Regions from separate parts of the Homo sapiens genome. Here all the other regions are linked to region 1. Evidence: promoter capture Hi-C in 16 types of primary human blood cells and fetal thymus (Javierre and others, 2016). All regions are on one chromosome and are shown on one strand. The core of a region is centred on a gene start or on the middle of the fragment in contact, and the rest is flanking DNA. Distances in the headings are between cores, read along the strand shown.

What was found. Contacts are between HindIII fragments. The CHiCAGO score rates a contact against its expected background, and 5 or more counts as called.
Region 2: a contact is called between a fragment that was not itself captured here and the fragment with the promoter of RPL7L1 in region 1, in 1 of 17 cell types (megakaryocytes). The highest score is 5.5, in megakaryocytes.
Region 3: a fragment that was not itself captured here is called in contact with the fragment with the promoter of RPL7L1 in region 1 in 2 of 17 cell types (M0 macrophages and total CD8 T cells); the score reaches 6.0 in M0 macrophages.
Region 4: a fragment that was not itself captured here is called in contact with the fragment with the promoter of RPL7L1 in region 1 in 4 of 17 cell types (M2 macrophages, M0 macrophages, megakaryocytes and 1 more); the score reaches 8.6 in M2 macrophages.
Region 5: a contact is called between a fragment that was not itself captured here and the fragment with the promoter of RPL7L1 in region 1, in 1 of 17 cell types (naive CD8 T cells). The highest score is 5.7, in naive CD8 T cells.

Annotation. Positions count from the first base shown.
Region 1 is chr6:42,875,691-42,881,965 of GRCh38, forward strand. RPL7L1 (ribosomal protein L7 like 1) reads left to right here and starts at 3,926. Exons shown (of 6, transcript NM_001366481.3): 1 at 3,926-4,261; 2 at 5,171-5,276. The coding sequence starts at 4,221. RefSeq lists enhancers at 2,938-3,895, 3,638-4,107, 3,896-4,852, 4,128-4,187. The HindIII fragment of the contact is 10,267 bases long and covers 1-6,275 here.
Region 2 is chr6:42,570,027-42,576,301 of GRCh38, forward strand. UBR2 (ubiquitin protein ligase E3 component n-recognin 2) reads left to right here. Exons shown (of 47, transcript NM_001363705.2): 2 at 3,708-3,967. Among named protein-coding and RNA genes, the nearest start is that of UBR2, 9.1 kb to the left of the region's middle. RefSeq lists enhancers at 2,734-2,793, 2,884-2,933. The HindIII fragment of the contact is 744 bases long and covers 2,207-2,950 here.
Region 3 is chr6:42,591,261-42,597,535 of GRCh38, forward strand. It overlaps UBR2 (ubiquitin protein ligase E3 component n-recognin 2), which reads left to right. Exons shown (of 47, transcript NM_001363705.2): 3 at 891-969; 4 at 2,931-3,044. Among named protein-coding and RNA genes, the nearest start is that of UBR2, 30 kb to the left of the region's middle. The HindIII fragment of the contact is 2,154 bases long and covers 2,380-4,533 here.
Region 4 is chr6:42,614,304-42,620,578 of GRCh38, forward strand. It overlaps UBR2 (ubiquitin protein ligase E3 component n-recognin 2), which reads left to right. Exons shown (of 47, transcript NM_001363705.2): 9 at 768-875; 10 at 1,699-1,787; 11 at 3,106-3,204. Among named protein-coding and RNA genes, the nearest start is that of UBR2, 53 kb to the left of the region's middle. The HindIII fragment of the contact is 5,430 bases long and covers 171-5,600 here.
Region 5 is chr6:43,143,722-43,149,996 of GRCh38, forward strand. PTK7 (protein tyrosine kinase 7 (inactive)) reads left to right here. Exons shown (of 20, transcript NM_002821.5): 15 at 730-885; 16 at 1,479-1,711; 17 at 2,897-2,977. Among named protein-coding and RNA genes, the nearest start is that of SRF, 24 kb to the right of the region's middle. The HindIII fragment of the contact is 1,549 bases long and covers 2,058-3,606 here.

The sequences.
Region 1 (6,275 bases), core at 2,676-5,175:
TGTCTAAAAAAAAAAGAAAAAAGAAAAGAAAAACAATCTGGGGACTGGGCACGGTGGCTCATGCCTGTAATCCCAGCACTTTGGGAGGCCAAGGCAGGCAGATCACGAGGTCAAAAGATTGAGACCATCCTGGCCAATATGGTGAAACCCCATCTCTACTAAAAATACAAAAATTAGGCAGGCATGGTGGTGTGCGCCTGTAGTCCCAGCTACTTGGGGGGCTGAGTCAGGAGAATTGCTTGAACCTGGGAGGCAGAGGTTGCAGTAGGCCGAGATAGTGCTACTGCACTACAGCCTGGCGACAAAGCGAGACTCCATCTCAAAAAAAAAACACAAAAAACCAAAACAATCTGGGACCATTTTTTTACACCCTAGTCTGTATTCCATATGTTTGGGACTGTTACAGTCAGGATTATTTGGTTGTAAACAACAGAAAATTATTCTAGTTAACCAACATAAAGGGATTTTGTAAGGAAGATAAGAATTAAAAAATTGAAGAACCCATGAGGCTTGAGAAGGACAGAGACAAAGAAACTCTAGGAGGTTTTCTTAGGTGGAAATCGTTAAAAGTTTTGCCCCTGACTGGGTGCGGTGGCTCATACCTGTAATCCCAGCACTTTGGGAGGTCGAGGTGGGCAGATCACTTGAGGTCAAGAGTTCGAGAGCAGCCTGGCCAACATGGTGAAACCCATCTCTACTAAAAATACAAAAATTAGCCGGGCGTGGTGGCACACGCCTGTAATCCTAGCTACTCGGGAGGCTGAGGCGCGAGAATTGCTTGAACCTGGGAAGCAGAGGTTGCAGTGAGCCAAGATTGCACCACTGCACTCCAGCCTGGACGACAGAGCAAGACTTTGTCTCAAAAAAAAAATAAAAATAAAAACGAAAAAAAAAAAAGTCTTGTCTCAAATCTGGTGCTTTGTTCCATCATCACTCTGCTTAAAATTCAAAATCACAGAGAAATTTAGCATCTCATACCCACTCCCAATGGGGTGATGAAAAGAATTGAAAAGATCTTCCAAAGACTCCTTCAGTTTAAGTATTGGAGGGCAAGCGTTTGGATTTGATATCCTCCCAACAGCTGCCCAAATGTACATGATGAAGAGGAAATAAGTTCACAAGAGGACTGGAATTTTTTTTTTTTTTTTGGTGGGGGGAGACAAGGTCTCACTCTGTCGCCCAGGCTGGAGTGCACCGATTCTCGTGCCTCAACCTCCCAAGTAGCTAGGATTACAGGTATGCGCCACCACACCCAGCTAATTTTTGTATTTTTAGTAGAGATGGGGTTTCACCATGATGGCCAGGCTGGTTTTGAACTTCTGGCCTCGGGCGATCTGCCTGCCTCAGCCTCCCAAAGTGCTGGGATTACAGGCATGAGCCACCACACCTGACCTCAGTAACCTCACTTTGAAAAAAAATCTAGGACACATGCTCAATGCTCAATAAACACATATTCAGTTAGTGAATAATTGTTTAAGAGGTGGGGCTCCTTTCTTTTTCCCTTTGTCAGTCTGGTGGAGTAAGGGGATTGGCACTGAGAATAAGTATTCTCCTAGCACCATCTGCTGGCAGTAGAAAGCCATTCCTGAATCCTGGCCTCAATCCCATTCAGTCTTGGAGTACTGGTTTTTTGGGGGTTGTTTTGACACAGATTCTTGCTCTGTTGCCCAGGCTGGAGTGCAGTGGCATAATCTCGGCTCACTGCAACCTCCGCCTCCCAGGTTCAAGCAATTCTCGTGCCTCAGCCTCCCAAGTAGCTGACTACAGACATGTGCCACCATGCCCGGCTAATTTTTGTATTTTTGGTAGAGACAGGGTTTTGCCATGTTGCTGAGGATGGTCTTGAACTCCTGAGCTCAAGTGATCTGCCTGCCTCGGCCTCCCAAAGTGCTGGGATTACAGGCGTGAGCCATCGCCGCCTGGCTGAAGTATTGTTAACCCTAAAATTCCTCCTCCTTTTAATATTATTGGTACCACAGACTCTACCTTTTATCCATAGACAGGAAAAATCACAAAACATTTAACTTTTTGCTTTTTTGTTTACTATTTAGTGAATGTCTTACACTTTGGTGACCCTTGTGTTTAGCCTCTTTACAAAGACACATGGTGAGGTGCTGAAAGAGAATGAGCCTCCCTCTTTCAGTGTGTGACCTTGAATGCTGGGTTGTCCTGACACTTACTCATCAGAAAGTGACCTGTGCCCATGGCACTCTTTCCGGTTGGACTAGTTACATGGCAACACGAGGCCTTTAGCTGCCACCAGTATCAGTATCAATAGTGCCAAAATCGAGAAATTGGTGCTAGATCCTTAGGATCAGTGATGAGTAAGCAGTCATGGTTCCTGCCCCCCCTAGTATCATGTGGAAGAAATATTAAAAATATAATAATGTCCTGAGGGAAATCAGACACTACTCTAGAGTCTTACTAGTCAGCCCATAGACCAGTAGCACCAGCGTCACTCTGAAGCCTGTTAAAAATGCAGAATATTGGCCAGGTGCGGTGGCTCACGCCTGTAATCCCAGCACTTTGGGAGGCCGAGGCGGGCGGATCACGAGGTCAGGAGATCGAGACCATCCTGGCTAACAAGGTGAAATCTCTACTAAAAATTCAAAAAATTAGCCAGGCGTGGTGGCGGGCGCCTGTAGTCCCAGCTACTCGGGAGGCTGAGGCAGGAGAATGGCGTGAACCCGGGAGGCGGAGCTTGCAGTGAGCCAAGATCGCGCCACTGCACTCCAGCCTGGGCGACAGAGCGAGACGCCATCTCAAAAAAAAAAAAAAAAAAAAAGCAGAATATCAGCTCCCCACCCGGCCTCCTGAATAAAAATCTGTATTTTAGTAAAATCTTCAGGTGACTCCTATTCACTATTAATGCTTGAGAAGCGCTGCTCTGGAGGTTTCCAGAGATGATAAGACTTGTGTTGTTTTTCAGGATTTTTAATTTTAAAAAAAATTTATTTCTTGTTTTTTTTGAGACTGTCTCGCTCTGTCGCCCAGGCTGGAGTGCAAGTGGCACAAACTCGGCTCACGCAGCCTCCGCCTTCTGGGACTTCAGGCGCGAGCCACCACGCCCAGCTAATTTTTTGTATTTTTAGTAGAGACGGGGTTTCACCATCTTAGCCATGCTGGTCTCCAACTCCTGACCTCAAGTGATCCACCTGCCTTGGCCTCCCAAAGTGCTGGGATTACAGGTGAAAGCCACCGGCCCGACCTACTGTTTTTCAGGATTCTATATAGACTGGGAGGGAAGAACGCAAATTCCGGGCGATGAGAGCTGCATAAGGGTTTTATTTTTATTCTTTTTTTTTCTTTTCTTTTCTTTTTGTTTTTTTGAGACGGAGTCTTGCTCTGTCGCCCAGGCTGGTGGGCAGTGGCGCGATCTCGGCTCACTGTAACCTCCGCCCAAGACGGGGTTTCGCCGTGTTGGCCAGGCTGATCTCGAACTCCTGACCTCAGGTGATCCTCCCGTCTCGGCCTCCCTCCCAAAGTGCTGGGATTACAGGCGTGAGCCACCGCGCCCGGCCTGTGTAACGGTTTTAGACGGGAAGGAAGCATGTTGTAGTTTTCGGTCCAGCAGTAATAGTAACAAACATAGTGCTGACAGACACTGCTAAACGCTTTATCTAATCTCCTGTAATCCTCGTAACGCCATTAGGTAGACCTATTATTACTGTACACCCATTTTATGGGTAATGAAGCCGCAGTATAGAGGGGTTAAATAACGTGTTCAAGGACGCATCGACGGGGCCAAGCAGACGGAATTGCAGCTACCTGCTTTACCACTCTAAGTCCTCAACAAACACTTCCACCTACACGTGAGAGCCAAAGCCATAGCCTCCAAGTTTTTCCACAGAGCGAAAATGTTTCGCGGAGTTTGCCTGTCTTCCTCCCCAGAGACGCAGCACAGCCGCGCCGGAAGTGCGGCGCCGTAGCTAGGAGCGGACGCCATAGGTGCATTGTGGGAAGCACTTTGCTGTCCACAGCCAGGCCGCTTGTGATGAAACTGTAACTTACAAGAAAAGGGCTGGGTTTTGAAAATAACACAGGCTCTAAAAACCCTAAGAAGCGGTGCAACTTTTGGCAGGAATCGGGGTTAGCGGGACCTCAAGGGCTCACTGCGGCTAAGTGAACGCTGACTGGTCCTCCAGCGTGAGCTAGAACAGACGTCTCTATGGTCAAGTAAACAGAGCGTGTGCTGTCTTCCCCATGTGGTGGGGTTGCGCATGATCAGTAGCTGCACCACTAGAAAGATGGCGGAGCAAGAGTGAGTGTTTGGGGCTTTGAATATCTGGAGTGGGGTCTTGAGTATCCGGTGCCATCCACGGTGTTTATGCCTTGGTGGCGGATTCCTGTGGGCTCTAGGAATAGAAAAGGCCACAGTTTACAAAGGGTGGGGGTGAGGAGGAGTAGCGCTGTGGCGGAGGAGGGAGGGGACCGCGGTCAAGTTCGGGTTATCTGGAGAGGCGAGGATTGACTTCAGGCAGCGGGCTGGAGTGCCACAGTTGAATTCACCCAGCCCGACAAGTGTTAACTCTGCAGATAGGCCTGCCCCCGCCCCAACCCCATAGATTCGTCGCTGCTAGTGCCTATGAAGAACTGTGGCCGTGAAAACCCTGTTAACTTATACGAACCCAGAGGCTAAAGGATTCATTATTTTCCGAGGCTTTGGGGATGAGTGACTATTAGGGATGGATTTATGAGGCCTGGAGTCAGAAACCGCAGGTTTCAGGGGAATCTTTCTTCAGATACTTGAAAACAGTAATGTTCCCTAAAGCCCAGGATATTGAATTGGTTTGGAAATCCATTGAATGTTCGTTTTCTTTTTTGTTGTTGTTTTTGTTTTGAGACGGAGTCTTGCTCTGTCCCCCAGGCTGGAGCGCAGTGTCGGGATCTCGGCTCGGTGCAACCTCCGCCTCCCGGGTTCAAGCGATTCTCCTGCCTCAGTCTCCCGAGTAGCTGGGATTACAGGCGTGCGCCACCACGCCCAGCTGATTTTTTATTTTTAGTAGAAACGGGGGTTTCACCATGTTGGTCAGGCTGGTCTCGAACTCCTGACCTCAGGTAATCCACCCACCTCGGCCTCCCAGAGTGCTGGGATTACAGGCTTGAGCCACCGAGCCCGGCCAAGTGTTCTTTTCTAAATGTTATCTCTGATCTCAATTTTCTGCATCAGGCAAAGAAAAATCCCTTTGGTTCCAGAAAATCTCCTGAAAAAGAGGAAGGCTTATCAAGCCCTCAAAGCCACCCAGGCAAAGCAGGCACTTTTGGCAAAGAAGGAGGTAATGGTGGGGAACCAAGAGAAAGTAATTAGAATTTTTATTTGGTGAGTTTTATCCCGCATGTGTTGGACTACATTTGGTATTGACGAGCTCCCCCCAACGGTTTGACAGACCAGGTATAGTTGTCTCTCAGTGTCCTTAAGGGGTTGGTTCCAGGACTCCCACAGATGCCTAAATCTCAGACTGCTGAAGTCCCTTATATAAAATGGTTGTAGTAGGCCGGGCGCGGTGGCTCACGCCTGTAATCCCTGCACTTTGGGAGGCCGAGGCGGGCGTATCACGAGGTCAGGAGATCGAGACCATCCTGGCTAACACGGTGAAACCCCGTCTCTACTAAAAATATAAAAAATTAGCCGGGCATGGTGGCAGGCTCCTGTAGTCCCAGCTACTCGGGAGGCCGAGGCAGGAGAATGGCGTGAACTCGGGAGGTGGAGGTTGCAGTGAGCCAAGTTCGTGCCACTGTACTCCAGCCTGGGCGACAGAGCGAGACACTCTCTCAAAAAATAAATAAATAAATAAATAACTGGTTGTAGTATTTGCATATAATCTATACTCCTTCCGCCTATGTAGTTTAAATCCTCTCTGGATTGCTTAATAGCTTTATTTATTTATTTATTTATTTTGAGGCAAGAGTCTCACTCTTGCCTAGAGTGGAGTGCAGTGGCACAATCTCGACTCACTGCAACCTCTGCCTACTGGGCTCAAGCAATTCTCGTGCCTCAGCCAACCAAGTAGCTAGGATTACAAGCATGCGCCACCACACCTGGCTAATTTTTTTTTTAACTTAATTTAATTTTGTTTTGTTTTTTGAGACAGAGACTCACTCTGTCACCCAGGCTGGAGTGCAGTGATGCGATCTTGGCTTACCACAACCTCCGCCGCCTCCCGGGTTCAAGCGATTCTCCTGCCTCAGCCTCCCAAGTAGCTGGGATTACAAGGATGTGCCACCATGCCCTGCTAATTTTTGTATTTTTAGTAGAGACCGGGTTTCACCATGTT
Region 2 (6,275 bases), core at 1,329-3,828, 310 kb before region 1:
TTGAAGAAACAGTTGCAGTTAGCATATGTTAGAACTAATATGAAAAGCTATAGATTTTATTCTTTGGGGAAATGTGTGAGCTACTTCTGAAAGACAGTCATAAATTTTTCTTGCTTTTTATATTAAGTATGTATGTTTAATCAGCTTAAAGTGCCTGTAATAGAGCCCAAATCTTTTAGGTGATTGTGATTTTTTCATATAATGGTAGTAAAGTTTTTGGTTTTGAGACGGAGTCTCACTCTGTCCTCCAGGCTGGAGTACAGTGGCGTGATCTAGGCTCACTGCAACCTCCACCTCCTGAGGTCAAGCGATTCTTTTGCCTCAGCCTCCCAAGTAGCTGGGATTACAGGCGTGCACCACCACTCCTGGCTAATTTTTGTATTTTTAGTAGAGATGGGGTTTCACCATGTTGGCCATGGTGGTCTCGAACTCCTGGCCTCAAGTGATCTGCCCACCTTGGCCTCCCAAAGTGCTGGGATTATAGGCGTGAGCCACTGTGCCCAGGAGTAGTAAAGATTTGAAAAATGGGGAGCATATGCATGCCTTTCTTGGACCAGACTTTTAAGTCTTGTTATTTATAATAATATGTAATAAAGAGTGAAATACTTGCTTGTTTTACTAATAATATTTTTATGTAAAGTGGCTAGTTTTTTTTTTGTTGTTTGTTTGTTTTTTGAGACAGGATCTCACTCTGTCACCCAGGCTGAAGTGCAGTGGCGTGATCATGCCTCACTGAAGCCTCAACCTCCGGGGCTCAGGTGATCCTCCCACCTCAGCCTCCTGAGTAGCTGGGACTACAGGCATGCACCACCATGCCCAGCTAATCTTCTTTTATTTTTAGAAGAGACAGGGTTTTGCCATATTGCCCAAGCTAGACTCGAACCTCTGAACTCAAATGAGCCACCCGCCTTGGCCTCCCAAGTGCTGGGATTACAGGCATGAGCCAAAGAGCCTGGCCGATTTTTTTTTTTTTTCTTAACCAGAAGCTGATACTAGCGTCTGAATTTTTGTTGAAGAAATCTATGAACAAATTTGCTCTCGTTACAGTTACTAGACTGCATAATTTTTTTTTAGAAAGCATCCATGCTAGCCTGTAGTCCCAGCTACTTGGGAGGCTGAGGCAGGAGAATGGCGTGAACCTGGGAGGCGGAGCTTTCAGTGAGCCGAGATCGCGCCACTGCACTCCAGCCTGGGTGACAGAGCAAGACTCCGTCTCAAAAAAAAAAAAAAAAAAAAAAAAGCATCCCTTCTAAAGTAACCTTTCATTCTTGTATTAAAATTTTGCAACAGTGAAGTTTTACAGGAATGGGAACATAAAATATAAGGAAAAAAACTGGTTTTTAAATAAAATCTTTCAATATGTTGTAAAAAAAAGTCCGAAGCACTTAACTTTCTAGGATCATGGAGGTGAATTATTTTGGTCTTATTGCTTAATTTTTCTTTCATAAAGAGTAAATTGAATCCTAGCACCTTTGGGAGGCCGAGGTGGGCAGATCACCTGATGTCAGGAGTTTGAGACAAGCCTGGTCAACATAGTGAAACCTTGTCTCTACTAAAAATACAAAAATTAGCCGCGTGTGGTGGTGCACACCTGTAACCCCAGCTACTCAGGAGGCTGAGGCAGGAGAATCACTTGAACCTGGGAGGCAGAGGTTGCAGTGAGCCGAGATCGTACCACTGCACTCCAGCCTGGGCGACAGCACGAGACTCAAAAAAAAAAAAAAAAAAAAGCGCTTAGGATCATTTGACTACCTTCATTCTTGTTTTGGTTTGCTGACAATGGGTGAAAAATGAGACATTTACCTTTGAATGAGGCCAAAACGAGGTCTTTTAGCTCAAAGAATAAGATTCTAGTATGCTTGTTGAGGACTCTTTTTCTTTTTTTAAAACTTGTCCTCTTTATAATTACTGAGCTTAAAGGATGTGTATGTATATATAAAATTTTGATTGAGTCACTCTGAAGGGAGAGAATACTTAAAGCCTGTAGGATTGTCTCCTAAGAAATGATGCTGCTGCTGCTGTTTTATTTTTATTTTTATTTTTTTTTCCCTAACCACTTGGCCACCAGGGAAGAAATGCTGTTGTTTTGAAAGTAATTTAGTCTCTTTCCTACTTGCATAATGTAAACACAACAATGTTAGTAATATTTGGAAAATAGTTTAGTTTCACTTTAAGCATGAAAACTCTTTCACCGTTTTTGGTTATAAGCTTCTATCCAGTCCCTTAACTTATGAACAAAATTTTTACATTTTTAGTAAAAGTTCTCTGAAAACAGAAATTGACTAGAAAGTTAATATACATCACCTCATGCATATTTAAAATCTCTCTGTATGTTGTTTTTAGAAGGAGTGGTCTGAAGAATATACAAGTAATAGCTAAAATGAAGACCTTATGTTGACTTCTTATGATGTTACATATCACTTGAACATACTTTTTTTTTTTTTTTAAATAAAAATGTAACTGGAATTAGGTAGTAATCCATAGGTAAACATTGGAGGTTTTTTTTAATTTCAGCTTTTACTTTAGATTTAAGGAATACATGTGCAGGTTTGTTACATGAGTATATTGCACCTGGGTAGTGAGCATAGTACCCAATAGGTAGTTTTTCAACTCACTTCCCCTTCCTCTTTCCCTCCATCTGTGGGTTTTGTTCACGGTTCAGTTAACTGCATTCTAGCAGAAGTGAGTCTTTTTTTTTTTTTGTCCTTTGAGACAGACTCTTGCTCTGTCGCCCAGGCTGGATCTTGGCTCACTACAACCTCTGCCTCCTGGGTTTAAGCGATTTCTCCTGCCTCAGCCTCTTGAGTAACTGTGATTACAGGCATGCGCCACCACATCCAGCTAATTTTTATATTTTTAGTAGAGAAGAGACTTCACCATGTTGGCCAGGCTGGTCTTGAACTCCTGACCTCAGGTGATCTGCTTGGCCTGGCCTCCCAAAGTGCTGGGAAGCTTTTCAGATTTTTCGGTGTGGATACCCAGGTTGAGCTGGAAATGGAGAAAATAACAGATTTTGGTGGAGCATGGAGGGGAGATCATGCATTCAGTTATTGAGTTGGTACCTATGAGATCTAAGTAGAATCATGCTTTAAAATTTGTTTTTAGTGGGGAGAGCAAACGGAAAAGGCCTTATAGAGAGAGAGAAGTTGATCAGAGAAAGAAGGCATAATTGGTACAACAGTCTCTTGTGGACTGACTTATTCAATAAGAGACTGGTATATAAACTTGCTTATCAATCATTAAGAAATGTGTATTGGCTGTTCATGTTCACCGTACATATTGGCTGTTCATATTCACCGTACACTCTTCCTATGGACAAACTGACGTGAGAATTGATATCACAATGAGAATAACATTTGAGCAAAGCATTAGGAAGGACATTAGGTGAGCTCAATGGTTCATATCTTATATAATGATTTCTTGTAATTATTTTCTGGTACTGCCTAGAGAAGATTGCTTCAAGAGTCATTTTGCAGGGAAGGAGGGAGGCTTGTTTCATTTTAATTTTACTTACACTTAAAAGTAGGATTTAAACATACTTGGCATTTTAATAGATTAAATTTCTAACGTACGGTGGTGAGTGTTGTAAACAAAATATTTTAATATGCTTTTGTCATTATTTTTGTACCTAAAAGAAAGTAGGGTGAATTTGTTCAAATTAGTTTGTTGGTGTTTAAAACCATTTCTTCTCTTTTCTTCTTTTAAAGAAATGGCTGCAAGCAACTGACCTCACTAGAGAAGTGTACCAGCATTTAGCCCACTATGTACCCAAAATCTACTGCAGGGGTCCCAACCCTTTTCCACAGAAAGAAGACATGCTGGCACAGCATGTTTTGTTGGGACCAATGGAATGGTACCTTTGTGGTGAAGATCCTGCATTTGGATTTCCAAAACTTGAGCAAGCAAACAAACCTTCTCATCTTTGTGGTCGTGTTTTTAAAGTAGGAGAGCCTACATATTCTTGCAGGTAAAATATTTTAATTTTCTTTCTAGGAGGCTCTTGTTTTATTTGACCTCTTTTTTTCCCTGGAACTTTTGAGTTTTTGTTTAAAAATTATGAAATACCATATCTGCTTAAAAATCTGTATTACAAATACATGCTATTTAATAAATAATTAAAGCAAACATTTTTGTAATTATTCTTGATCAAAAAAAATTGTCACCAGCATTCTTGAAGCCCACTGTGTGCTTTCTTCCTTCCCCCATAATTAACTGACATCTTGACTCTTGCAATAATCACTTTCTTGCTTTTCTTGATATTTTTTAGTTACAGTAATTCTGATGTTCAAATTGCCATAGATTTGGCTAGTGAGAGCCCCGTCACACCATCTTGTCTTTTTCACATGCCTTCATTAGTTTGTGGGTGCTTCTTTCCTTTCTGGCACAAGATGCCCCAGCTCACTTTGTACTTGCTCTGACCCGTATGTACAATCAGCTATTTCTTTAAAGATTTTTCTTTCATTTGGGAATGGTAGTTAGAAACCAAGATCTGGGTGCTGTATGCATTTACTGCTGTTAGGAAGACTTTTCTTTTTTAAATTTCTTGGTGAAAATTGAGTATACAAGGGTAGAAGATGGAGAATAAAGTGCCTTGTCCCCTTTTTGACTGTCCAATTTTCCAGAATTAATCATTGTTAACATTTTCCCATATATCATTTCAGAAATTTTCCTTTTTTTTTTTTTTTCTGAGATGGAGTCTTGCCCTGTCACCCAGGCTGGAGTGCAGTGGCGCGATCTCGGCTCACTGCAACCTCCACCTGCCAGGTTCAAGTGATCCTTCTGCCTCAGCCTCCCAACTGGCTGGGATTACAGGCTTAGCCCATGACCATGCCCAGTTAATTTTTGTATTTTTAATAGAGACGGGGTTTCACCATGTTGGCCAGGCTGGTCTCAAACTCCTGACCTCAGATGATCCACCTGCCTTGGCCTCCCAAAGTGCTGGATTACAGGCATGAGCCACTGTACCCGGCCTCTTTCAGAAATTTTCTTTGTGTATATAGGCCAAGATATATGGCAATTTTAAACCTACATACATAAATACAGATGGGAATATGTTACATATACTGAGCTAAATTTTCTTTTCTGTATTTAACCATAGCTTAACATCTTTCCGTATCAGCTTATGTAGCTAGATAATATTCTTTTGTGTAGATGTGTTGTCAGAGACATTATTTAACTTTTTCCTTTAAACTTTTTCCTGTAAAACTGAAATTTAATAAGCTAATTTTGGTGAAAGCCTCTGGTTATCTATGGTAGTTTTCTTTATTAGCTTATTTAGAATATCAATAGAGAACAGTATATATATTGAAAAACTATTAGACCTAGTTTTTTGTTTGCTATTACAGAAACTACTTTGAATATTCTGTTGATGTTTGGAGCAGTAGACCTAGTTGAACCTCATAATTTATGGATAGGAAATTGAGACCCCATTGTTCAGTAATGTTCTTTGTATTAATAGGATCTAGTTCCAAATTATTTGTATATCTTGTCTTTTAATCTTCAATCTGGAATGTTTCCTCAATTTTTCTGTGACTTTCATGATCTTGACACTTTTGAAGATTACAGACCAGTTATTTTGTCAATGTCCCCTCAATTTGGGTTTGTCTGGTTTTCGTAATTAGATTCAAGTTGCATCTGTGACAGGAGTGCCACAGAAATCATGTGTTTTAACCCTGTCAGGTGGTATGTATGATTTTGATTAGTTCTACAACTGGTGATATTGATCACTTGATTAAAGGGATGTCTGCAAGACTTCTCCACTGTAATGTTACTCTTTTCCCCTATGTGATCAATAAGTGTGTTGTTGGGAAGTACTTTGAGACTATTAAGTATCCTCTTCATTATCAAACTTTCAATTTATTTATTTATATCAGTATTTGTGGGGTCTCATTATTATGCTCAAATTGTCCTAGATTTGGTCAATAGGAGCCCCTTCAAGCTATCTTTGTTCTTTTTCATATCTCTATCATCCTTTGAGCTCTTTTTCTTTTCCTTTCCTTTTCCCTTCTGTTTTTTCTTTTCTTCCTGGTACAACAAGATGTCCCAGGCAATCTTGAGCTTTCTCCTGCCCCAACCCTGAAATCAACCATTTTGCCAAGGATCCTGGTTCTTTTTAGTGGAAAATGGTGTTTACAAATAAGATGGTATGTGTGCATGTTGCTGTTGGTGTTATAACTCTCAGGCTGTCTCAATGGAGCTTTATTTTATACCTATCTGTATAAATGTATTGAAATAGATATTGGAAACCATGCATCTGTAGTGATCTCTTCTGTTCC
Region 3 (6,275 bases), core at 2,207-4,706, 280 kb before region 1:
CCCAGGGGATTTCTGTGTCTGTAACTAGGGTTAAAGACTAAATTTTAGCCCATCTACTAGCACCCTTATCTACAAGAGTTTTAGGAGCCTGGTGTCAGGAACCAGGGGCAGGAACCAATATAGATTTCTTATTTTACACTCCCCATTTCATTTCATGGAATTGTCTAGATTCTCTTAAGATATGATCTATAAATGTATCTAACTGGCAGTATGAAGAAAGCAAATGAAACAACTCAGGGCACCCCAACCAACCTTTTGAAACTCTTCAGTCAGGATATCTTATGGGCCATATGTGTTGTGTGAATACCAGAAATAGGGGCCATGTGAGGAGACCTGTATCATTCAGTGCAGTGAACCTATAGAAGGTTTAATTTCCCTTTTTAGTTAAAATTTAAGTAGAAATGTAAGTTCAAATATTGTCTTCTTGCATTTCAGTTGATACTTCTGCCTTTCTAGGGATGTATACATATCACTTTGAAGACCCTTGGTCTCAAATACCTGTTTGGAAGAAGTTATTTGAAATTCCAATATATGAATCTTAAGAATTCATAAATATTTTGAGTATATTTCATATACATCTATGTGTTTTAATGTGTAATGTGATTTCCACAAATCTATGGGAAAACACACCATTACATTAAAATTTACTGTTCTAATAATATGTGCCTTGAAAGACTCCCTAGCACACATCCATTATGGAGACGCAGGTCCTTAAACTGCTTTCATTGATCAAAGATCTGACAGATCTTTGGGAATGATACTTCCTTTTTTAAAACACCAAAAAACTTCACGTTTTCATTCTTTTAGGATGGATTCCAATTTGAAATAATTCTGTTGTGAAATATATAGTTATTTTCTGACACTTTGATTTTTTTTTTTTAACTTTACAGAGACTGTGCAGTTGATCCAACTTGTGTTTTGTGCATGGAGTGCTTTTTGGGAAGTATTCACAGAGATCATCGATATAGGGTTAGTAATGTCCAAATAATAACCATGCGCAGTATTGCATTTTATAATAAATATCTTTTCTTTCTTTTCAAAATGCAAAGATTTAACACTAAAATGGGGGGAGGGTGGTTTAAACAGTGTGTTTATTTAAATACCATTGGATATAGGGTGCCAGTGTAGAAACAAATTATGAATCCACACTTCTTGGAGCATATGATTTAAAAAAGATAATAGAGATATCAGCTCTTCTGTATTGGTTTTCAACTAGTTTGTTTTTGCTATTTTTTAATGTTTATTAAAGAGGCATCTACTACAATGTAGGAGAGGACCCAACTCCAGCACCTACGACCCACCAGTTTAGTATTTTTTCACTGCTGTAATGCTGTCAGTACTTTTCAAAATTCAGGTATGTTTGTTTGCTTTTAAGTCAGGGACACAGATAAATACAGATTATTCCAAATCCTGTCCTGGTTCCTCTATTGGAAATTGAAGACAGACCATGGAGATTCAAAGGGTAGGGTTGTTAGATGGAACTTTTCACCCTAATCATAAAACAGAATGGTAGAGAGGAATATTTTAATATTATTCTTAATTCAGGAGCCCATCTGGGTCAGAACTTTTCCTCCTGTTTGTTTTTATTTACTCTACCCAGGAGTTCATAATAATGAACTAAAACAGCTACGGGGCCGGGCGCAGTGGCTAATGCCTGTAATTCCAGCACTTTGGGAGGCCAAGGCAGGCGGATCACGAGGTCAGGAGATCAACACCATCCTGGCTAACAATGGTGAAACCCCATCTCTACTAAAAATGCAAAAATTAGCCAGACATGGTGGCGCATGTCTGTAATCCCAGCTGCTCGGGAGGCTGAGGCAGGAGAATCACTTAAACCTGGGAGGCGGAGGTTGCAGTGAGCTGAGATCACACCACTGCACTCCAGCCTGGGCGACAGAGCGAGACTCCATCCCAAAATAAAAAATAAAAATAATAAAAACCCAGCTACAAAATTGGGCTACTTATATTCTTGTCTGTTCATTAGTCTCATAAATCAGTAAAAGAGGCCCAGTTTCCTTTAAGCTGTTCTGCCTGTGTTTGGTAACTGAAACAAGCACGTGTCATTTTCCAAATGACTCCTACCCACATTTCTTGGCATATATCTTTGCATTCCCTGGGAATAGTTGTCATTTATAGGGTTACATTAATTATATTGTGATATATAACACAAATACTTACTTTGGGCAGAATATAATAGGGCTTATTCTAAAATTTGCTGTATCTAATACCTGTTAGTAAGCTCTTCCTCATACTATTTTAAGAAAAGCAGAATTTCTAGTCTACCAATTATTAATTCTGGTTCTGTGATGCCAGATTTCTTAAATCATTGCCCTGTCTTAAGGAATTATGAATAATTCCTGAACATTGCAGGTGGTGAAAAGCTTTTATTAGGCAGTCTACTTTTGCATTTCCTGAGCCCCTATTACTTGTCCTTTCAAAGAGTGGCTATTTAAGGTGTATTAGAGAAGAAAAATTAACTATTTCTATAGTCTTTGTTGGTTAATTTCTCCAAAGCAAATGCAGCACCCTTAGACTCTAGGAGACAGCAACTAGAGGAATCTGTATAACCCCTGAGTCTATTGTGTTTATAGCATCACAACCTGTAGCGTAGATATCAGCATTATACCAATTTAACCAAAACCCAGCAAGAAAACCCTTGTGATCCTCATGATTTTCCTAATTAAGGAAGTCATGTAGGCAAACATTACAAAGTAGCTTATTTTATTTTGAAATCACTTAGATTAGCTTATAGGCTTATTTAAAATAAACTTTAAAACATTGAGAGGTTTGGCATTTTATCTAATTTTATGCCTCCAAAGAAATTAAACACTTAAGCAATGGTATTTCCTTAGCACTTGATATTCTTATTTATTATCTGATAGCCCTCAGTAAATATTTATTGACAAGATACTTTACAATTTTTTTCCAAGATGACAACATCAGGAGGTGGAGGTTTCTGTGACTGTGGTGATACTGAAGCCTGGAAAGAGGGTCCTTACTGTCAAAAACATGAACTTAACACCTCTGAAATTGAGGAAGAAGAGGTAAAAACATTTTCACAAAGTTGTTTTTAACCCAAGTTTGAAATATTTTGAGAAATAGTCATTAGATGATGTGAGAAATGGATAAGCAAATAGTACTTCCACTATTGACAGTGACTAGTTTACTTTGAAAGTTCTTTGCATTTTGTGGATGCTGTACGGTTGCTAATAGTACACAGTTGAAATTTGGGAAATTTCATTTAATTCTGATTTTTTATTTGGTTGGGGTTTTGTTTTAAGCATACTTGAAGTTTATTTGAGTACTAACCTATGGTTGAGAGGATTATTTTTCCCATATGTGTAGACCAGTTAACCAAGTTGAGTTTTGTATATCTTTATTATAACAAAGACTTTTGGGGCCAGATAGCTTTCTTTTCTGTTACCATACATGACAGCCAATCCCAATCATCATCTCCTGGTTTCCATTATCATTGGTTATGTGATGGGACCATGTGTAGTGATGATAGCTCAGTACAAATAATTCCCACTGCTTACTGTGTTTTTCAAATTGTTGATCCTGCATTATTTTTCTTAAATGGATTTGTAATGGAATAGTAGAGTCCCACAAAATAAATGCTTAAATCTCTGCTGCTTTTTTTAAAACTTCAAAAACTTTCCATATATTTCTAATAACTCACTTAACTGTAATTATACAATGATTAAATCTTTCAATGGTATGCTACAATAGATTATGTTTTATTATTTTTAATTGACAATAATTGTACATATTTATGGGGTACAGCGTGATATTTATGGGGCACAGTGTGATATTTTGATACATATATACAATGTGTAATGAGCAAATCAGGGTAATTAACATATCCATCACCTCAAGCATTTAACATTATTTGGTTTTGGAAACCTTCACCATCCGCTCTTCTAGCTATTTGAAAATATACAGTAAATTGTTAATTATAGTCATGCTATAGTGCTGTAGAACATTAGAACTCATTCTTTCTATCTAGCTTTGTTCTTGTATCCGTTAGCCAACCTGTGGCAGTCCCTCTTCTGCTACATTTTATGACAATTTGTTGTATAGTTCAAGATCCTTCTTTCAGATTTTATTTTTAAATGGCAGGGGAATAGGTACACTCAAGTACGTCTACATTGTTAGTAGGCCTGATATAGATTTGGGGCAAGTGGACATCAATAGTCCTTCCTCAGCCAGGCAAGGTGGCTCATACCTATAATACCAATACTTTGGGAAGCCAAGGCGGGTGGATCACTTTAACCCAGGAGTTTGAGACCAGCCTGGGCAAATGGCAAAACCCCATCCCTACAAAAAATACAAAAATTAGTTGGGTGTTGTGGCACGTGCCTGTGGTCCCAGCCACTTGGGTTGGGGGTGCTGAAGTGGGATCCGCTTGAGCCATAGGAGGCAGAGGTTGCAGCAAGCCAAGATCATGACCCTGTCTTTAAAAAAAAAAAAAAAAAAGTTCTTCCTGGTACCCATATCCTACAGGTCTCAAATATATTTTATCAGAATGACCAAAGCTTTTGATGTACAAATCAAAATTTATACAAAATGATTCAGTGCTATGGAAAACATGTTTTGTTTTTCATTTGCTTTGTGAAAGGGTTCTGTAATTTGCTACAGTAAGATGCCAAGTGGTCAAGGTTCCAGATTTTTCCACTTCTATTGGAGAAGCTCCATTTTTATATAGTTGATTGGGGTTCTGTATGTAGAAATACAGGACAAATAAAGATATATTTGAAAAAAAAGAATTGTGCTTTAGAAAAAGGTTAAAAACCACTGGTATAAAACTTTAGGACTGCAGGAGAAAGTATATGTGTGTATATCCAAGCCATGTATCCAAAAAGGATCTAGTATGCAGAGTTTATATCTTACAACTCAGCAAGTAAAAAGATAACCCAATTTAAAAATGGGCAAAAGACTTGAATAGACATTTTTACAGAGAAGATATATGAATAATCAACAAACACATGAAAAGATGCTGAACATCATTAGTCATTAGGGAAATGCAAAATCAAAACCACAGTGAGATACTGCTTCACCCTCAGTAAGATGACTATTAAAGTAATAACAAGTATTGACAAGGATATAGAGAAATTAGAACCCTTGTATATTGCTAGTGGAAATATAAAATGATTCAGTGCTGTGGAAAACAGTTTGGCTGTTCCTCAAAATATTAAACATTACCGTATATTTCACACCTAGATATATACCCAAAAGAACTGAAAACCGAAGTTGAGCAAGTACATGCACACACATGTTGTAGCAATGTTGTTCACAATAGTCAAAAGGTAGAAACAGCCCAAATGTCCATCAGTGAATGAATGGATAAACAAATTGTGATAATATACATACAATGGAATATTTTTCGTCCATAAAAAGGAATGAAGAACTGATACATGCTACAACATGCATGAACCTCTAAAACATATTAAGTGAAAGACGCTAGACTCAAAAGGTCACATATTGTATGATTCCTTTTATATGAAATATTCAGAATAGGTAAATCTGTAGAGAGAAAAAACAGATTGGTAGTTGCCAGGGGCTGGGGAAGAGGAAAATGGAGAGAAATGGCTTAGTAGGTAAGGGGTTTTACTTTGGAGTGATGGAAATGTTTTGGAACTAGATTGTAGTAGTTGCACGTTATAATAAATGTACCAAGTACCACTGAGTTGTTCACTTTAAAATGGTTAATTTTATGTTCTGTAAATGTCATGTCATTTATTTGGAAAAGATACTTTAGGACTTCTGTTACCTTTTTTATCCCTGTGTTAGAGTAGACTTAAAATAATTTTCTAATGAAAAGTTTTGAATCTGCCTACATTTGCTCTGTTGGCTTTATCCTCATACATTAGTGGGATGGCTATCCAACAGTCCAAGCTCTACTTAATTTCCTGAATTTTAAGAAGACACCAGCAAGCTCCCCTGCCTAGCCAAAAGTCATACAATCCTGCCTGGAGAATGTATACTCCTGGAACTAGACAAAGAATAAAGCCTTCCAAACTCTACCATTTAATTTATATTTAAGAGTTTAATTAAGGCCAGGCGCGGTGACTCATGCTGTAATCCCAGCCCTATGGGAGGTCGAGGTGGGCAGATCACTTGACCCCAGGAGTTCAAGACAAGCCTGGGCAACATGGCAAATCCCCGTCTATACAAAAATTACAAAAATTAGCCAGGTATGGTGGCGTGCACCTGTAGTCCCGGCTATTCAGGAGGCTGAGGTAAGGGGATCACCAAAGCCAGGGGAGATTGAGGAT
Region 4 (6,275 bases), core at 1,636-4,135, 260 kb before region 1:
GCGTATATGGGTATGTATATATGTGTATATGTGTATGTGTGTATGTATGTGTGTATATATGTGTGTATGTGTGTATATATGTATGTACGTACATACATACGTATGTATGTACGTACGTACATATATATGTATGTACGTACATATATATGTATGGAACAAATAAGTGTTAAAGCTTTGGTTATTTTAATGCTTATATTAATATTTGAAGAACGTTTCTGAAGTTTACATTTAAAAGGTTGTAGTAATATGTTTTCCAGGGTCTCACATGCCAAGTCCACAATAAGTTTTTGTTTAATGAATGAAGAATTTTTTCTGTAGCATTAATAAAATGCATTGCTATATATTATAATGCAGAAGTCATGCATTCCTCCTTTTAAATGGTAGCACATTTTATATTTCAATTATGGAATGTATAACACTTTCACTGTAATCTGGTTTAATTAGCATAAGTGCTTGAAGAACAATATTAAGTGGTTTTTTGGATGTTTTTCTCTTTAATTAAATTCATTAAAGCACAAGAGGTTATTGCCTTTATGATAGGCATATATTTTGACTTTCAGGAGTAATGGTGTGTGATGTGAGATTTGAAATTTATTTCCTTTTTGTTAAAATATTAATAAAACAGTTAATATGTTTGCCTTTTCTGAATAAATTTGAACTTTAAGAAAACATTTAAAACTCTACAGATCCATTTGAACATCTACTAAAATGTCACTATTTTAATATTTGAAGTTGCTATCTCATTCTACCTTTCCTTCTATTTAAAGATGGCCTTCGCCGGATTTTATGTCAAGTTGGTTTACAAGAAGGGCCAGATGGTGAAAACTCTTCTCTAGTGGACAGACTGATGCTTAGTGATTCCAAATTATGGAAAGGTGAATCTCTTAACTACTTTTAAGGTGTAGAGGAACCTATATAAGTAATTGGGATGTGAAAGGTTTTTATCATTTGGGAAGATATTTAATACATATATTTGTGCTTCTTAAAATTAGCATTGCAGTCTTAGTCTTTGAAAAATATAGATTTGGTGGGGTGGGGTCCATGATCCAACTTAAATGGACTTTATATTTTGTTACAGAATTATGTTTAGAAAACTTGGTTTTATAAACAAATTGCAAATATTTTGTGCTAAGGAAAATATGTATTTTGCTCCTTTTTTGAAGGGACAGGATCTCACTCTGTTGCCCAGGCAACAGGAGTGCAGTGGCATGATCATTGATCACTGCAGCCTCCAACTCTTGGACTCAAGCAATCCTCCCTTCTCAGCCTCCCTAGTAGCTGGGACTACATGTACATACCACCATGTATGGCTTTCTTTGTTTTTGAGACTTAAAATACAAGCCAGTCTCAGTGGTGTGTGCCTGTAGTCTCAGCTACACAGGAGGCTGAGGCAAGAGGATCACTTGAGCTAGGAGTTTGAGTTCAGCCTGGGCAACAAAGCAAGACCCTAAAAAAAAAAAAAAATGCTGTGTTGGCTGGGCATGGTGGTTCACATTTGTAATGCCAGCACTGTGGGAGGCCAAGGCAGGAGGATCGCGTGAGCCCAGGAGTTAAGACCAGCCTGGGCAACACAGCAAGACACTGTCTCAAAAGTAAAAACAAAACAAAACAAAAAAAACCCACTGTGGATCACATAACACTTGAGAAATGTAATTGTTGGGCGTGTCCTTATCTTATACCGTGATCTTTTTCTACAAGGTGCTAGGAGTGTATATCATCAGTTGTTCATGAGCAGTCTGCTTATGGATTTGAAATACAAGAAACTATTTGCTGTTCGATTTGCAAAAGTAAGTGGCTTTTCAATTTTGAAAATAGGTTATATATAGAGTAACTATGCCCATAATTATATCTAGGCTTCAAAAAATTAACATCTAATAGTAATATGTCAATGTGTTGATATTAAATTCTAAGAAACTTCATAAATAATCTTTTCATTCTTTATCAATAGAATAAAATTTTAGCCGTGAGACTCCTTGTTCATCACCTCCTATAACATGAGTATCTATTATACAATGTTTATGAAATAATAAATGAAGAGTTTAAACCTATGCCATTGTGAATTATGGTATTTTTTTCTATTAAAATTCATATAAGGAAACTAATCTCAGTTTAAATGACATATATATGAATATGATTTAATAAATATATTTGTGCATTTTAAAATTAGCATTGCAGTCTTAGTCTTTAAAAAAAAATAGATTTTTTTTTGGAGGGGGGGCATGATCCAAATTAAATAGCCTGTATATTTTGTTAGAAAATTATATTTAGAAAACTTTGATTTTATAAATAGATTGCAAATATTTCATGCTAAGGAAAACATGTATTTTGCTTTTTTTTTTTTTAAGAAACAAGGTCTCTTCAGAACTCTAGGTTATTAATATAGTTAAGTTCTCCCTTTTAGCAGCATGTGCATAAGCTAACCACTTATTTTTTTGCATTCACCTGAATTACGAAGTATATGAGAATCACTTGGAGAGCTCTTTCAAAATACATGTGTTGTGTTCCATTCTCAAATCTACTGAAACAGATTCACCAAGAATGGCGGCCCAAGCATGTATGCTTTGGAAGAGTCATCAGATGATTCTGATATGATGCAGAAGTAATGAAAGTCTGATTTCATCAGAAACAGTGTAATGCTGCTGTGGTTTAGCTCCACCAGCATACAATGACATCTTGGGAGCTTAGTAGCTGTTACTGCCTATTTGGGCTGGTAAACTGCCATTGTGCTCCAGAAGAAAGAATCGATATTTATACAGGATTCCACAGTTTCCATAGTGAATCAATATCTATACAGGATTCTATTGGTAGAAATCATTCCAGTTATTGTTCTCATAGCAGTGTTATCTTCTTGACTTCCTCCAGCACTGACTTTTCATTATAATCCTTAAACATTTGGTCATTGTGGATTAGAGGTGAATCTCCCCCTTGTTGTTTAGAATTACCAGCAGTTGCAGAGAGATTTTATGGAGGATGATCACGAGCGAGCAGTGTCGGTGACTGCTCTATCTGTCCAGTTCTTCACCGCACCTACTCTGGTGAGTAGTGCTTGCCTTTTCTTTGTAACTGATAGCTGGCACTCCTTGCCTTTTTTTGCCTTCTTAATAGAACTATGAGCGTTTGCAGAGTGATTATGTGACAGATGACCACGACAGAGAGTTTTCAGTCGCAGACCTCTCGGTTCAGATATTCACGGTTCCTTCACTTGTAAGTACTGAAAGACTAGAAGAACTTTCTTGTTTTCCATTAACAGAGGCCTTAAAATAATAGAGAACTAAAGTCTGTATATTCCTGAAAAGAATAGTATTTTATTAATGGGTAATCAGACTTCAAACACCTTCACTATTCTTTTACTAGAATATAACCTTGAATATCAAAGTCATCTGGTAGGGGGGAAGTCATTTAAACTTAATTTATACTTTCTCTTCAGAGTAAAGGAGAGGGAAACAATCTACAATTTTTCATAGTACTTCCCTGAGATTTTGAACTGATTAGTTCACATTAAGCCGATTGATTTCACAAATTATCCTTCACGTTAGAATTAGACAGCATATTGTACACCGTCTCACAATTTGAGAAGTCCTCCTCCCACCTCCCTCCCAAAAGGGGAGATGTAGCTAAGGCAATTGAATCCTGATGATTGGATGGTCTTTTACTGAGCTTCACGAGTTGCCCATAAAGGCATCGTTATGTTTTAACGCTATATACATAATTAAAATTCATATTTAATTTGTTCAGCAAATTTAAGAAACACCTATTTATTGGGCACAGTTCTAGACTTTGAGAATGTAACAGTAAACAATAACAAATGTGACCCTTCCCTCATCAAACTTACCATAGTGGGAAAGACTCACATAAATAATCAGAATCACAATGAAAATTCCGTTGGTTTGAGAGAAAATAACAAGAGACCTGTCCTTTTCCCACACTTCAGGGCTTTTCTAAGAAAGGTGCCTTTATGCAAGGGCATGAGGGAAGGTCCATACAAAGGAATGAGCAGTTGAGAAAACCTGGAGGAGTAGGGTGGAGCATTACCTCTTGGCAAATAGAGGAAAACCAGGACACTTGAAGATCCTTGAACCTGGAGTGAAATTGTATAGGTTTAAGAGCATTTTATAGTTACTTTATTAATAAGGCATATTAAAAATAACTGAATTTTTCACCATATTACTTTTATGTTAAAGGATATATTCTAATACAGTGGAAGCTGACTGGAGTCTGTTTACCCATTAATGAGCTAGTATGATAGGCCAAATTAAGGATTTTTGCATTTTGTCTTAAAAACATGAGAAGGCATTAAAGAATTTTAAGTGGTATTTACATAATTACATTTGTGATTTTAAAAGATCATGCTGTCTGTAATTTGGAGAACAAATTGGACGAGGATAAAAGTGAGTGTGGGAAACCTAATCAGATGCTAAAGCAATGACCCAGGGAAAAATTGATGGTAACTCGAACTGGGATGCTGAAAGTGGATATGAATCATGGGGGATATTTTTAGGTGGTGAAATCTACAGAACCGGCCAAGTGGGTTTGAGGGTTGTTGGACTTGCTGACGAACTGGATGTCGGGTTTGAAGAAGCATAAGGATGATTCGCAAGCATCTGGCTTGCAGCTGAGTAGATGCTGTGCCACTTGCTGAATGATTAGCATTTGTAAAGAGGGAAAGTGATGCTTTTAGTTTAGTCAGGGTTGAGTTCCAGAAGCCTCTGAGATGATCCTGTGTGTATTCATATCTGTGCTTCCCTCCTTCATTGAACCATTTCCATGCCAGTACCACAGTTGTAATAATTATTTATAGCTTAATATCCCATTTTGACATCTTAAATCCCATTTCATTTGATAGCTTAAATCTCCTTTCATTATTATTTTCCAAAATGTTTTCGCTTATTCTTAGGCCTTTTTCAAAAAGATGAAGTAAAATCAGATTGTCAGTTACCAAAAACCACATTAGAATTTTGACTGAAAAGACCTTATATTTGTAGATTAATTTAGGAAGCACTAACATCTTTGCAATATTGAATATCCCAACTAGGAATATAATTTGTCCTTGTTTATTCAAATGTTATTTTATGTTCTTAGTAAAAACTTCATAGTTCTCTCGTTATGAACATATATATATATATATATATATATATATATATATATATATATTTTTTTTTTTTAGTTCTCTATCTCTGCTGGGCGCAGTGGCTCACCTCTGTAATCCTAGCCAAGGCAGGTGGATCACCTGAGCTTAGGAGTCTGAGACCAGCCTGGCCAACATGGTGAAACCCCATCTCTACTAAAAATAGAAAAATTAGCCAGGCGTGGTGGCGCACGCCTGAGGCTGAGGCAGAAGAATCACTTGAACCCAAGAGGCGGAGGTTGCAGTGAGCTGAGATCAAGCCATTGCACTCCAGCCTGGGCGACAGAGCGAGATTCGGTATCCAAAAAAAAAAAGTTCTTGCTCTGTCACTCAGGCTGGAGTGAGGTGGCACGATCACAGCTCACTGCAGCTTTGACCACCTGGGCTTAGGCAATCCTCCTGTCTCAGCCTCCCAAGTAGCTGGGACCACAGATGCATGCCACCACACCCAGCTAGTCTTAACATTTTTAAATTAAGCTTATATGGTTTATATTTTTGATGCTGTAGTAAACTTTTTATATTTTTGATGCTGTAGTAAACTTTTTATATTTTTAAACAGGCTATGGTAGTATTTAGGAAAACTACTGATTTTTATATGTCCATCTTATATCTGTCTGGTCTATCTGGATATGTATGTATTCAGATTAAATAGGTTCTACCAGACTCTTTTCCATAATGGTTAAACCAATTCATGCTTCTGTTAATAACGTATGAAAGTGATAGTTGCTCCACATCCTCACCAACACTTGGTTTTACCAGTCTTTTAAGATTTTATCTATTCTAGTGGGACATAGTGGTTTCTCATTATGGTTTTAATTTGCATTCTTCTGATGATGATGAAGCTGAATTCCTTTTTATATGTTTATTGGCATTTGGATATACTCCTTTGTGAATCCCTGTTAAAGTTGTCCTTTGATTATCTATTGAGTTGTCTGCCTTTTTCTTACTGATTTGTCAGAGTTTTTCATAGATTCTGCATACATATTCTTTGTTGGGTATATATACTACAAATATTTTTTCCACTCTTGTTTACTTCCTGAATATTAAGTGTTGTTTTTTTTTTTTGTTTTTGTTTTTGTTTTTTTTTAAGACAGAGTCTCACTGTCCCCCAGGCTGGAGTGCAGTGGCATGATCTCGGGTCAGTGCAACC
Region 5 (6,275 bases), core at 1,582-4,081, 270 kb after region 1:
TGTTGCTGGGTCCTGGAGCTGGGACTGCCCCACCCCTAGCGGGAAGCCTGGAGTTGGATTCCCAGGGCCTCGTCTTCTGAGCAACCTGGCTTGAGACTTCTTCATTGGAGCCCCTTGGACCAGCTTCCTATGATTCCCTGCTGTTTCCTCCTCCCAGCACAAAACCACAGATATCATTAGTATATGTACACACGTTGCTGTTGCATGTCTTGTCTCCCTCTATGAGTCTAAGAGCTCCCCCAGGGGCAGTCTTTCTGTTTACTTCCCTTCTCCTATCCCCACTTCCTGGACTGGGAGCTCCTTGAGGTCATTGCTGGGTCTCTCCTATCAGCTCAGGTGTTCAGGAGCAGAGGTTGGGTCTCCATTATTGTGATTTTCCCTTTGTGCCTGTTTAGGGCTTTGCCCAATAGGAGGCCCCATGAAAGCAAAAATCCTTATGTGTAGCTATGGTATTAAGGACCAGTGATTCAGATTAGATGTCTGCAGTTGGCTTCATCTCAGAGGTCATAATCAGCTGCATCACTAAGGGGTCATACCCTAGGGGATAGCCATACATCCCCCACCCAGCCCCAGCCCCATTATTTCATCATTTGGGCTTGCCCTTTCATGTGGAGCACTGTGATTGGACCCAAGTTGGCAAGAGTGGAAGACCAGGGGACAGAACAGAAATCCCCATGGTGGCCAGAGTGTCAGGTCTCATCGTGACGCTCTTGTCCTCCTCCTTCCCAGGTGGGCCTTTGCAGAACGGGCAGCCCTCAGCAGAGATCCAAGAAGAAGTGGCCTTGACCAGCTTGGGCTCCGGCCCCGCGGCCACCAACAAACGCCACAGCACAAGTGATAAGATGCACTTCCCACGGTCTAGCCTGCAGCCCATCACCACGCTGGGTATGTTGCCTTGACTACAGCTGCCCCTGCCTAACTACAAGTCACCCGCTGTGTCTTGAGGCTGGGTACGGGCTAGTGTTCTGAAGTCCCTGAAACCTAGAATGTTAGAGGTGGAGGGAAGCATAGGTAGAGATCTAGCCCAGTGTGGCCCCAGAGCCTGTTATTCACTGCCCTTCGTGCAGATTTTGTCATTCCTGTGTACTACCTGTAGTATTATTTACTTGATGTTTTATTTAAATTGACTCTTTAAAAAAAAAAACTAAGTTACCATTGTTCTAGGAAAAAATATGAGAAATCATGGGTTTGTCATAGTTACGTTTTTTCCTAGCATACGTTAAGACATGTTTACCATGAGCCACCAAAAATTCTCATGCGAGTCACCCTTTGGAAAATGCTGAATATTAGTCCCACCCTTTTATTTTGTTGCTGCAGACACTGAAGCCTAAGGAGGGAGGGGGTCACAGCAGAACCGGGTCTCGTGCCCAGCCCAGGTGGGTGGGTCCCCACTGTGGGAGAGGCTAGGCCCCTCCCCCAGGTCAGGAGCTGCCTCGGCCTGGGTGAAGGTGGCTGGCTGACTCAGACTGTACCCACAGGGAAGAGTGAGTTTGGGGAGGTGTTCCTGGCAAAGGCTCAGGGCTTGGAGGAGGGAGTGGCAGAGACCCTGGTACTTGTGAAGAGCCTGCAGAGCAAGGATGAGCAGCAGCAGCTGGACTTCCGGAGGGAGTTGGAGATGTTTGGGAAGCTGAACCACGCCAACGTGGTGCGGCTCCTGGGGCTGTGCCGGGAGGCTGAGCCCCACTACATGGTGCTGGAATATGTGGATCTGGTATGCTGTTGGCAGGGGACGTGGGGGTCTCGGGTAGGGAGGGCAGTGTCCTACAAAGGTGGGAGTCAGTGGTTGGAGCACCGTGAAAACCTTGTCTCGTGCAGTCTCAGCCGAGACCTCACCTGCCTGCTGTTACACTTTGCCCACCTTATGATGCTCAGCTTCTGCCTTCCCTGCTCTTGGATGCCTGCTTTCCCTTTATCAGCACCCAGTCTTTCCATCTGTATCTCAGGGGCGTTGGTCCTAAGTTTTTCTGGGACTTCTCACTGTCACACTGCAGGGATGCCTTCCAGGTCATCTTCTCTGACTCTTGTTTTCTTTGGTTTGTTATTTTTTCCTCCCCAAAAGCTTGTCCCCACTTGAGAATAAATATATCAGAACCCACTTTGCCTCCCTCCTTCCTAGCACCACTTGTGACATGAGTGTTACCCCAGCCACCAGCCTTCTCCTCTCCACTCAGGGTGTCATTCCCAGAGCTGCGCCTTCCTCTTCATTCCCCAGCTGGTCCTTGCCCTCACCCCATGGTCCTCAAACTGCTGCTTCTCAAATCCCTAGTTCTGGGGCAAGAGCGGGCAGGAGTCCTATCAGTCTTTCCATTAACAAGTACTTACGCGGCTGGGCACAGTGGCTCACACTTGTAATCCCAGCACTTTGGGAGACTGAGGCAGGAGGATCGCCTGAGGCCAGGAGTCCGAGACCAGCCTGGGCAACATAGCAAGACTCTGTCTCTACAAAAAAATTAAAAACAAACAAACAAGTACTTATGAATGCTTTATGTATGTTTCTGCTGCTGGCGTTCTCCTTTGTTTGTTTAGATTAGATTGTAAAGCTCTGGAGGACAGGGGTTTCCTCTCAGGAATCTTTGAGGGCAGAGGGTAGGGGACTGTTTTCCTCTTGGCTCACTGAAGATGGGGGCTCTGTTGCCCCACCTGTCTGGAGGTTCCCCTTGGGGTAGAAATGCCAATTCTCCTCCTTTCTAACTGAGACAGCCTCTAGGAGGCGTCTCCTATATATTTTTAAAGTTCTGCACTCCCAGTGAACTTCCCCCTGGGAAAGGGGCCCAGGCTAGCTTAGGCCTTCTCACTGCCTCCCCAGGCAGGAATTCTGCGAGCACCTGCTTGGTCTGAGGCTTTACAGCCAATGGCTGTGCACTGACCTGAGCGAGATGCCTGGCTTTTCCCTTAGGGAGACCTCAAGCAGTTCCTGAGGATTTCCAAGAGCAAGGATGAAAAATTGAAGTCACAGCCCCTCAGCACCAAGCAGAAGGTGAGGACAGGGAGTGAAGGAGGGAGGGAGAGGGTGCCCAGGGGTGGGCCAGGAGCAACAGAGGCACCATTTATTGAGGGCTCTCTATGGGCCAGGCCCTATGGTAAGAACTTCACATGTGTTACTGTAATTATCACGGTAGTCGTCTGAAATATATACTACTATCCCCATTTTGTGGATGAAGACATTGAGGCTTAGGAGGTTGTCTGACCTGTCCCAGGTCATGTAGCCTGGAAGTGGCTTTGCATTGCCATGCTGGCTTCACGGAGAAGAGCTACCCTCGGACCTTGCCTCTGGGCAGGAGCTTGCATTGGAGCAGGACGCCTGCCCACCTGCAATGAGCTCTGAGCTGGAGAAGCAGCAAGCAGTCCTAGTGCAGGGGCCTGCTGGGCTAGCTGTGGGCCTGAGCGTGTTTCTTCAGCTCTGAGTGGAGAAGACTCTTCTGTGAATGGGCTGCCTGGGTTTCCCCCTCTGTGGTTTGCATCTTGTCCTCTCCCTTGGGCTGTAGCTGCCCAGCCTTTCATTCCAGTTTTCCTCCTGCCTTTTGCGCAGAGGTTGTTCTGGGCACAGAGCCCTGGCTGGGGCCCCTGTGGTAGAGCAGACCTTGGTTGAAACAGTGAAGAAGGGAAAGCTTGCCTGCTACCCCCTGCCACCTCAGTCCATACCTTTCCAGTGCCTGGGGCTTGCTGTGGCCCGGCCCCTTCTTCCTTCCCTCAGGTTCTTCTTGCCCACAGCTGCCTCCTCTCCCCTCTGAAATGGATCTACTTCCTTCCATGTGACTGGAGAGTCTGCTTCCAAGCTGGCAGTGAAGTGACCTCATAAACCAAATCAGAGCTCAGGGCAGGGTAGGCAGAAGGCTCTGCCCTTTCTCCCAGGGGACCATTCCTTGCCTGCTAGGCTGTCCCAGGTCACAGACTCTGGAGGCAGAGCAGAAAGGCATGGCTGGCAGATGAATCAGGTGAATGGGACCCTGGCTGCCCCCAATCTCTCTGGGGAAGCAGCTCTGTGCCCTTCAGGCTGGCCCCCTCTTATTACATGTGAATTTACTAAGACCCAGACAGGACAAGTGACCTGGCCACCTGACACCACACCCCTACCTCCTTCCCCATGAAACTGCAGGAACTGTGTATAGTGGCTGTAGAGGAGAAGCCACAGGATGGGACTTGCTACACCAGCTAAGTGAGATTTCAGGACTAAAGAGCTCACAAATTAGGACACTCACAGAGCCAGTGACTCCTCACTGAGCCAGGTGTGGCCCCAGGGGCCCTTGGGAATGCAAAATTAAAACAGACAGGCATCAGCTAGGTGCGGTGGGAGGCTAAGGCAGGAGGATTGCTTCAGCTCAGGAGTTTGAGACCAGCCTGGGCAACATAGTAAGACCCTGTCTCTACAAAAAATAAAAAAAAGTTAACCGGGCGTGGGGGCATGCCTGTAGTCCCAGCTACTTGTGAGGCTGAGGAGGAAGAATCATTGGAGCCCAGGAGGTCGAGGCTGCGGTGAGCCATGATTACACCACTGCACTCCAGCCTGGGCAACAGAGCACGATCCTGTCTCAAAGGGAGGGGAGGGGGGGAAAGGACAGGCATCTTGCCCTTGGGGCACTTATGATCTAGTGAGGAGATTAGGTACATGAGTATGACCTGTGCCTTACAGACTTGAGGTAAAACAGAAAGCAAGTGGGAGGCATTAAGAGATGTTGAAGACACCCATGTCCTGTAGGTGGACAGATGGTTGTGGTTAACAAAGAAGTCTTCCTAGTAGAGAAAACCATTTGAGTTTAGTTCACAAGGACAGGATGTAGTTGAATGGCAGAAAGGGGATGGCTTCAAGAGTCAGGGGAGTCAAGGTGGGATTCTCTGGCTGGGATGAGACATAGGCTGACAGGAAGTCAGTTACCTTTCTCATGTGACCTAAGGGACTCTATTTGACTGCAAGTCATCACCATCTTTGCTAAATATCTTTTTCACACTTTTTTGCCATAGTGTCTTAAATATGATGGGGGAACTTTAATAAGTTGGGTTCTACACTCTCCAAGGACCATACTCTGCGTTACATAGAGAGGATGCTTTTAAAAAAAACAGGCAGGGCTCAGTGGCTCACACCTGTAATCCCAGCACTTTGGGAGGCCGAGGCGGGCAGATCACGAGGTCAGGAGTACGAGACCAGCCTGGCCAACATGGTGAAACCCCGTCTCTACTAAAAATACAAAAATTAGCCAGGTGTGGTGGTAGGTGCCTGTAATCCAAGCTACTCGGGAGGCTGAGGCAGGAGAATCACTTGAACCCGGGAGATGGAGGTTGCAGTGAGCCAAGATCGTGCCATTGCACTCCAGCCTGGGAGACAAGAGCAAGACTTTGTCTCAAAAAAAAAAAAAAAAAAAAAAGAAATGCAGGCCAGGCACAGTGGCTCATACCTGAAATCCCAGCACTTCGGGAGGCTGAGGCGGGAAGATCACTTGAGGCCAGGAGTTTGAGACCAGCCTGGCCAACGTGGGGAAACCCCATCTCTACTAAAAATACAAAAAGTACCTGGGCATGGTGTCACGTGCATATAATTCCAGCTACTCGGGAGGCTGAGGCAGGAGAATCGCTTGAGCCTGGGAGGCAGAGGTTGCAGTGAGCTGAGATCTTGCCACTGCACTCCAGCCTGGGCAACAGGAGTCAAACCCTGTCTCAAAAGAAAAAAAAAAGATTTCTGGACCATGACTCAGAATGAGGGAATTAGAGTATTTGAGAGTGAGGTCTAAAGATGTGAATTTTTCAAACAAGCTCTCCAGCTGATTCCTAAGCTCATTAAAGTTCAAGGAGCCCTGGTGGAGACTAGTAGCTTTGAAATGCTTTTTGATTATAATCCCTTTTAGGAAATGCATTTTAAGCTGGTGCAGCAGTATGTGCCTGTAATCCCAGCTACTTGGAAGGCTGAGGCCAGAGGATCCCTTGGGCCCAGGAGTGAGGCCAGCCTGAGTGACATAGCAAGACCTGCATCACTTAGCAACAACAAAAAAGAAATGCATTTTACTCATGATCTGGTGTGCAGGCTCATATAACTAAAATTAAACTTTCACAATGTTGTGTTTGATGCACTTGATGTTTTCTATCCTGTCCTCTTTTTATTTATTTTTATTTTTTGTAGAAATGGGGGTCTCGCCATGTTGTCCAGGCTGGTCTTGAACTTAAGTATTCTAGGGAGGTGGAGTGGTAGGCAGGGTGTTCCCTGGCCAGCTAGAGTTGGCACCAAAGTGCCATATTGGGTGTGAGTGGGCTGAGGGGAGCCTCAGGAGGATTTTAAGAGAGCAGTG